2 separate regions of the Homo sapiens genome follow, and region 1 is linked to region 2. The links are contacts of gene promoters, found by promoter capture Hi-C in human tissues and cell types (Jung and others, 2019). All regions are on one chromosome and are shown on one strand. The core of a region is centred on a gene start or on the middle of the fragment in contact, and the rest is flanking DNA. Distances in the headings are between cores, read along the strand shown.

Evidence for each region. Contacts are between HindIII fragments. The study calls those that stand out against the background at their distance.
Region 1: a contact is called between a fragment that was not itself captured here and the fragment with the promoter of EYS in region 2, in 2 of the 25 tissues and cell types used here (hippocampus and mesenchymal stem cells).

Annotation. Positions count from the first base shown.
Region 1 is chr6:65,775,889-65,780,299 of GRCh38, forward strand. No RefSeq gene overlaps it. Among named protein-coding and RNA genes, the nearest start is that of EYS, 71 kb to the left of the region's middle. The HindIII fragment of the contact is 5,057 bases long and covers 1-3,904 here.
Region 2 is chr6:65,704,956-65,708,826 of GRCh38, forward strand. EYS (eyes shut homolog) reads right to left here and starts at 2,271. Exons shown (of 43, transcript NM_001142800.2): 1 at 2,180-2,271. The HindIII fragment of the contact is 4,031 bases long and covers 1-2,463 here.

The sequences.
Region 1 (4,411 bases), core at 126-2,625, 70 kb after region 2:
AAAAAAACAGGGTTTCTGCCTAAAAGCTTCTAGAGCTGATAAACAATTTCACCAATGCCTCAGGATACAAAATCAATGTGCAAAATTTACTAGCATATCTATTCACCAAAAACATCCAAGCTGGAAGCCAAGTCAAGAACAAAATACCGTTCACAATAGCCACAACAATATTAAAATACCGAGGAATACAGCTAACAAGGGAGGTGAAAAACCTCTAGAATGAGAATTTAAAAACCCTGAATTAAGAAATCAGAAACAACACAAACAAATGGAAAAATATTCCATACTCATGGATAGGAAGAGTCAATATTGTTAAAATGGCTATATGGTCCAAACCAATGTACAGATTTAACACTCTTCTTATCAAACTACCAATGGCATTTTTCACAGAATTAGGAAAATATATTCTAAAATTTATATGGATATAAGGGGTTGCATAGCAATATATTCAAGCTTCTGTACAAGGCATTTGAGGTCAGGGCATAGAAAAACACTGAGGTACTGTGTGTATGTTGTTTGTGCATGAGACTGTAACTCCTTGACCCTGAAAACAGGACAAGCAATTGAGTGTGTGATACGGAATGCTGAAAACAGTCTCCTAAGAATGTAGTTTAACTGCTTTTACAAGGCCATATGTATCTCATGACCCGACGGCAAAATGCCATCTGGTGGATGTCTGTAGTAGCAAGCCCTTTCAATAAATACTTGGTGGATGGATTCTGGGGGGCACTCTCTCAGAAGAGCTGCCCCTCACCCCGCTCAGCTGGAATTGTCTGAGTACTCATTCTTAGCATTCACTGAAAGCTATAAGCTGCAATGGAACCAAAAGAGAACCCAAATAGCCATGATAATCCAAAGCAAAATTACAAAGATGAAGGCATCATACTATCTGACTTCAAACTACACTACAAGGATACAGTAAACAAAACACCACAGTACTGCTTAAAAAGTAGACACACAAACCAATGAAACAGGTTACAGAACCCAGAAATAAAGCCTCACACCTACAATCACCTGATCTTCGACAAAGCCAACAAAAACAAGCCATGAAGAAAGGGAACCCTACTCAATTAATGGCAAAATAAATGACTAGTCATATGCAGAAGATTAAAAACGGACCCTTTCCTTTCACCATATACAAAAATCAACTCAAGATAGACTAAAGACTTAAATGTAAAACCAAAAACAATAGAAAACCTTGAAGAAAACCTAGAAAACACCATTCTAGACATAAGCCCTGGCAAAGACTTCATGTCGAAGATGTCAAATGCAATTACACCAAAAATAAAATTGGCAGAAGGGACCTAATTAAACTAAAGTTTCTGCACAGCAAAATAAACTATCAACAGAGTAAACAGACAACCTACAGAATGGGAGAAAATATTTGCAAACTACGCAACCAACGAAGGCTTAATATCCAGAATTTATAAGGATTTTAACAAATGAACAAGTAAAAAACAAACAACCCCATTATAAATTGAGCAAAAGATATAAACAGACATTTTTCAAAAGAAGTTACACACATGACCAACAAGCATATGAAAAAATGCTCAACATCTCTAATCATTAGAGAAATGTAAATCAAAACCACTGTGAGATACTATCTCACACCAATCAATCAGAATAGCCAACATTAAGAAGTCAAAAAATAAGAGATTCTGGTGAGGTCATGGATAAAAGAAAACATTTATACACTGCTAGTGGGAAGAGAAATTAGTTCAGTCACTGTGGAAAGCAGTTTGGAGATTTCTCAAAGAACTTAAAACAGAACTACCATTCCAACCTACCAATCCCATTATTGGGTATATACCTAAAGGAACACAAATCATCCTACTTTAGAGACACATGCACACATGTGTTCACTGCAGCACTACTCACAATCAAAGATGTGGAATATACCTAAATGCCCATCAAAGGTAAACTGAATAAAGAAAATGTGATACATATACACCATGGAATTCTATACAGCCATAAAAGAGAATGAAATCATGCAGCAACATGGATAGTGCTGTAGGCCATTATGCTAAGTGAATTAATTTAGGAGCAGAAAAGAAAATACCGCATGTTCTCACTTGTGTTTGAGAGATGAACATCAAGTACACACGGACACAAAGAAATGAACAACAGACACCAAGGTCTACTTGAGAGCTGAGGGTGGGAGGAAGATAAAAATAAAAAATCTACCCATCAAGTACTATGCTTATTACGTTAGTGATGAAATACTCTGTGCACCAAACCCCCATGACACACAATTTATGCATGTAAGAAACCTGCATGTGTACCCCCGAACCTAAAATAAAAGTTGAAAATAAAATAAATATATAAATAGAATGAAACAGTTTTTGTAATCACCTTAGCTTACTTTCTTAGAAAATTCTGTTATCAATAGGAATATAATTTATTCATGATGTAATATTTCATATTTTTAATATTTAGAAGCATGTAAATAGCATGCCAATTTTATATATGTGAATTAGTCCATATGTAAATGGGACATAATTATACAATAATGAATTATTTACTAAACTTATAATTCCCAAATTTCCAAACTCATGTTTTATATTTATACACATTTTTTTTTGGATACAGAGTCTCACTCTTTTGCCCAGGCTGGAGTGCAGTGGTAGACTCTCGGCTCACTGCAACTTCCACATCTCAAGTTCAAGTGATTCTCCTGCCTCAGCCTCCCAAATAGAGGTATATGCTTTTTATGTGGTAAGCTTTGGTGATGTCTGAATATTTAATAACTTGCATGGCACAGACACAGAACAGACACTAGCTTTGACAAAAAGAAAAGGACAATCATTAGTGTGCAAATTTAGAAAATATCACCCCTTGTAGGTCACATTACAATTTAGTAATTAATAGAAATCTTTGACCTAATTCTTACTCTTGGGACCATTCTTCCTTTCATATCCAAGTGACTTTCCTCCCTTATCTTCTTTGTCTTTGCACAACTATCACCTTTACAGTGACTACTCCTTGACCATCCTATTTAAAATGGCACATGTACTTTCCATCTTCCTCATTCTGCTTAATATTTCTCTATAGCACTTATTGCGAATAAAATTTTATTGACACATAGCCATACCCATATATTTAGCTATTGTCTGGGGTTGCTTTGTCACCACAGTGCCAGTTTGTAAAAGTATGAGAGATCCCGTGGCTGGCAAAGCCTAAAGAAGTATATAATATCTGGTCTTTGCAGAAAGGTTTGCCAATCCACACCCTGCATAATTCACTTATTTATTATGTTCATTGTCTGTCTCACCTCAGCAGATTATAAATTCCATGGAAACAGAAGTTTTCTCTTTTTTGTTCTTTGCATCACTTTTCTATCCCAATTACCTATTAACAGCACTTGACACATAGTAGGCACTTAATAAATATTGGTAAAAAAAGGAATGGATAAATGGAAAACTAAACAAAATGTTTATCACATTTTCCATATATTTGCTCTCTTCACTAGTTATGTTTTTAAAAGACTTCTGCACAGCAAAAGAAACTACCATCAGAGTGAACAGGCAACCTACAAAATGGGAGAAAATTTTCGCAACCTACTCATCTGACAAAGGGCTAATATCCAGAATCTACAATGAACTCAAACAAATTTACAAGAAAAAAACAAACAACCCCATCAAAAAGTGGGCGAAGGACATGAACAGACACTTCTCAAAAGAAGACATTTATGCAGCCAAAAAACACATGAAAACATGCTCACCATCACTGGCTATCAAAGAAATGCAAATCAAAACCACAATGAGATACCATCTCACACCAGTTAGAATGGCAATCACTAAAAAGTCAGGAAACAACAGGTGCTGGAGAGGATGTGGAGAAATAGGAACACTTTTACACTGTTGGTGGGACTGTAAACTAGTTCAACCATTGTGGAAGTCAGTGTGGCGATTCCTCAGGGATCTAGAACTGGAAATACCATTTGACCCAGCCATCCCATTACTGGGTATATACCCAAAGGACTATAAATCATTCTGCTATAAAGACACATGCACACGTATGTTTATTGCAGCATTATTCACAATAGCAAAGACTTGGAACCAACCCAAATGTCCAAAAATGATAGACTGGATTAAGAAAATGTGGCACATATACACCATGGAATACTATGCAGCCATAAAAAATGATGAGTTCATGTCCTTTGTAGGGACATGGATTAAATTGGAAATCATCATTCTCAGTAAACTATCGCAAGAACAAAAAACCAAACACCGCATATTCTCACTCATAGGTGGGAATTGAACAATGAGATCACATGGACACAGGAAGGGGAATATCACACTCTGGGGACTGTTGTGGGGTGGGGGGAGGGGGGAGGGATAGCATTGGGAGATATATCTAATGCTAGATGATGAGTTAGTGGGTGCAGTGCACCAGCATGGCACATGTATAC
Region 2 (3,871 bases), core at 1,021-3,520:
GTTTTATTATATTTAAAAATAGAATTTCCTCTGGGAACACATGGTTTTCTTAAAATGGTATTTTTTTCACTTTTTTATTTCAATGATAGAGAAGTGTAATAGGCATTTATTTATATCAGTTGGGCTAGCAAAAACTTGTATGATTAGACCACCTTCTCCAGTGTTATATGGGCACCATAAAAGTTACTATGAGCCTCTGCAAGCATACATGATTTTCATTAAGATTATTAAGTGGTTAGCTCCTGACAACTTAGGGCACTCACAGGGAGCAATTAACTCTTTGGCTACTGCCATTTAGGGCAGGAGCTTGGCCAGAGTCAAAGAATCTGGGCTGCATAGAGGAAAATTTATTCATGGAGCAGCTAAGCATAGCTTAACGTACTCAGGGCTTGTTGGCCACCCTTCCCCAGAAATGTTTTATTTCTTTTGGTCCTTTCCTCTTTTTTGTTTTCCCTAAGTTTTTTGTTATTGTTTTAAAGATGCTACAGAAGGGGAAAGTGGAACCAAGTAAGTCAATACAGTTTTGTTTTGTTTTTTAACGCATTAACTCAATATTTGTTGAATGCCTCCAAATCAAGGCTTGGTATTAGGTTTTAGTAATTCCATGGAAAAAGGGGCATTGTGCTTATTCCCTATGCTCACAAGTTATTCTCTAGTTGGTTAAAATGCAGAAAATTATACAAATTTTGTCTGTCATTTATTTATGGCAACTGCAAACATGGAAGTTTCTTCATGGTTTGGCATTTGAGTTCTTGAATATTGAGTATAGTCAGGATTAAATCAATATCAATGCCCTTTTCCTTTCTAAATAGTAAAATGTTGCAAACATTTTTGTTTAAAAGGGCCATTTTTAGGCCAATTAAAACTATTAAGTTAAAAACTGAGAATTATTTTTAAAAAATCTGAATTATTAACAATTGCAATTTTTGTTGATAATAAAAACACACTTTATCCACTAGTAATATTGTATTTCCTTAATCCTGCTAATAATATAAACTGAATCATTATTACCTAAATATTAAGTTTTAAATAAAAACTTGTTAGAATTGATAATATAAATATAGTATGAAAATTAACTGCAAAGTAATATATATCAAAATTAATGGCAAAATAATATATATCAATATGTTGCATGCTTCAATATTCATTTCATATGTATTTTAGAAATCACATTTAATAATTTTAGGCAGAATGATTGATAGACATATACTCATATGATATAGATGATATGAGTATATATATGAGCATATATACACATGAGTATATATATCAATAGTTTCTAATATTATGCAATTAACTTTGAAAATAACATTAACCTTTAAGGTAAGCAATGGTCCCTTATTTTAATATTGTATACTAAGTAATTACAAATAGTTCAACATACCTGATTTCTGAAATATTTAAATAATAAAGATTTTTAAGCTCATTAAAGTCATAAGAATTAAACAGAACTAATAAATCTTATTGAACCATAAATCTCCTAAATAATAAGACTGGTAGTGTATTAATAAGGTAAGAGTGTTGGACCTGTGAAACACCTTTACGTTTTCTTTTTAAAAATAAATAATCACACTACAGCTGTTAAAAAATCATCATATCTGATCAGTTGTAAGAAAACTTAAACAACCACGTACAAAGGAAACACTATCCTCACAGTGCCATTGAAGAGGAAAAAAATGTTGATCATTAACATGAGAATAAACATCACCTCCAACAAAACTAGTATGAGTATCTCTAGATTTATGGCCAAAATCTTTTCTAAACAAACTGAAAAATCATACAATTTCATTTGCAATTGACATTTCATGGCCCTATGTATATGCTAGCAGACAATGGGGGAAAACCTCAAAAATCGAAAGCAATCATAAGTACTTCATGACTAAATAAAGATTCTCTAGCAATCCCCCAAATCCTGTATCTCAAAGGAGGTGAAAATTATATTATTTGTATATCCAAGGAATATAAAGCACATGTTGTTTTTGATTCAAACAGAATGAATATCCTTAAGCAAATGACAGAGAAAATTTAGTGAAAATGTTTTATATATAATAAGTAAAAATAACTGGTTAAAGAAATGCTTATGATTATAATTAGAGATCTTTGTAGTTGTGTTCAGCTAGGCAGTGTTTTTATCTAGTAATAGAAAAATAATTTCTAGGTGGAATCAAGTATAACTTACCCCAACCATTAGCCAAGGAGGCTTGCAACCCTAGGAGGCTTCTGATTACGGTTAATGTCTGGACATGCCTAGCGTGTATCACTTTGTTTCTCAGAAGCCTAATCCAATAAAGCTTCTTTTATATGTGTCTTCTGAAACATAGCACTAAAAGCCTTAACCTTTTGCAGTACAAAGGTAAAGTCATTAAAGCCATGTGCAGGCTGACATAAGGCCTGGCCTTTATTTAGCTAATCTGGAGATGAATATAGCAAATCACCATCTGGAGCTTTGTGTAAATCCATAAGCAAAATACTTCTCTACAATTTAATTATTCCTTATTTTATTTGTAACTCACCATTTTCATTGCTAACTTCATAGGTCTCAGTCTGAATGCTTTCTTGTGTTTTTAGAGATTATTACAATTTTTTTTTTGTTTTTGTAAAAAACTCATATACAGACAGTGGGAGAAAGAAAAAAGCTTTCTGTTGCTAGGGAAACCTGATGCTGAAGGTTTAGTAACAACCTCAGATGGTGTTGTATAGCAAAGGCTGTCAGCATAAGAGAACAGAAAGAGGGCCTGCTGATGCGAAGAACGATTTTAGTATGTTACTTATTGATTCTATGATGATCTTTATAAAAGAAGTAATACAGAATCTACCTTTTCCTAAAGAAGAATTATGGGACTATAATAAAGAAAGCCTCAAGAAATTTATACCACTGAAAGGTAGAATAAATGAAATCTCACCTCTATCTGTGAGATTATAGAAAGAACAGTTACTGAGTGCATTAGAATTTTGTCAAATTAAGATTCTATTAGTATATCCTGAACCCACAGTCCCAGTTGGACACTGGCTTTAATACTATCCTTATATTTTCAAATTACTAAATTAAACATAAATCATTTGTATTACACTTGATCCTGCAGTAAGTGTGTGAAACATATATTTAATCACTCTCCTAATGAAAGAAAAGTAATATTTTAAAATATTAAAATCACACTGTAGAAAAAAATTTCTATTTGTAGCAATAAATAAAATTATACATGTGTATATGTTTTATGATTTATTCTTTATATAATTTATATAATATTTACACATTTTTCATGAATCAATGTGCTACTAACATTTTGTTATCTAAAGGGAAGAACTTTTATATGTTGACTCATGGAAATGAGTTATTCATAATTATACACTGTGGCCTCCCAAGACAATTTACGCTGAACATAACATAGTATCATGATGCACATATCCATTTATATCTGGAAAACAGTTCATCTACTATATCTTGCTTCTTGTAAGACTTAGAAGTTTCCTCCCTTTCTCCCTCTCTTCCTTTCTCTCCCTTCTTTATCTTTCTCCCTCTGTTACTTTCTCTTCCTTCTTCCTTCCTTTCTTCACTTTTCTTTCTCTTGCATCTCCCCCTATTATTTCTTTCATCCTTTCTTATATCTTTCCCCTACCTTCCCCCTCCCTTCCTCCTCCTCCTTCCCTTCCCTTCCCCCTCCCTGTGTCCCTCCTCTTCCCCTCCTCTTCCCTTCCCCTCCCTCCCTTTTCCCCTCCTCCTCCTCTCCCCTCCCCCCTCCTCTCCTTGCCCTCTGCTCCCCCTTCTCCACTCCCCCCATTCCCTTCCCTTCCCTCTTTGCTCCCTCTCCCCCTTCCCTTCCTCCTCCTTTTCCCCATTCCCTTCCCTTCCCTCTCTGCTCCCCTCCCCTTC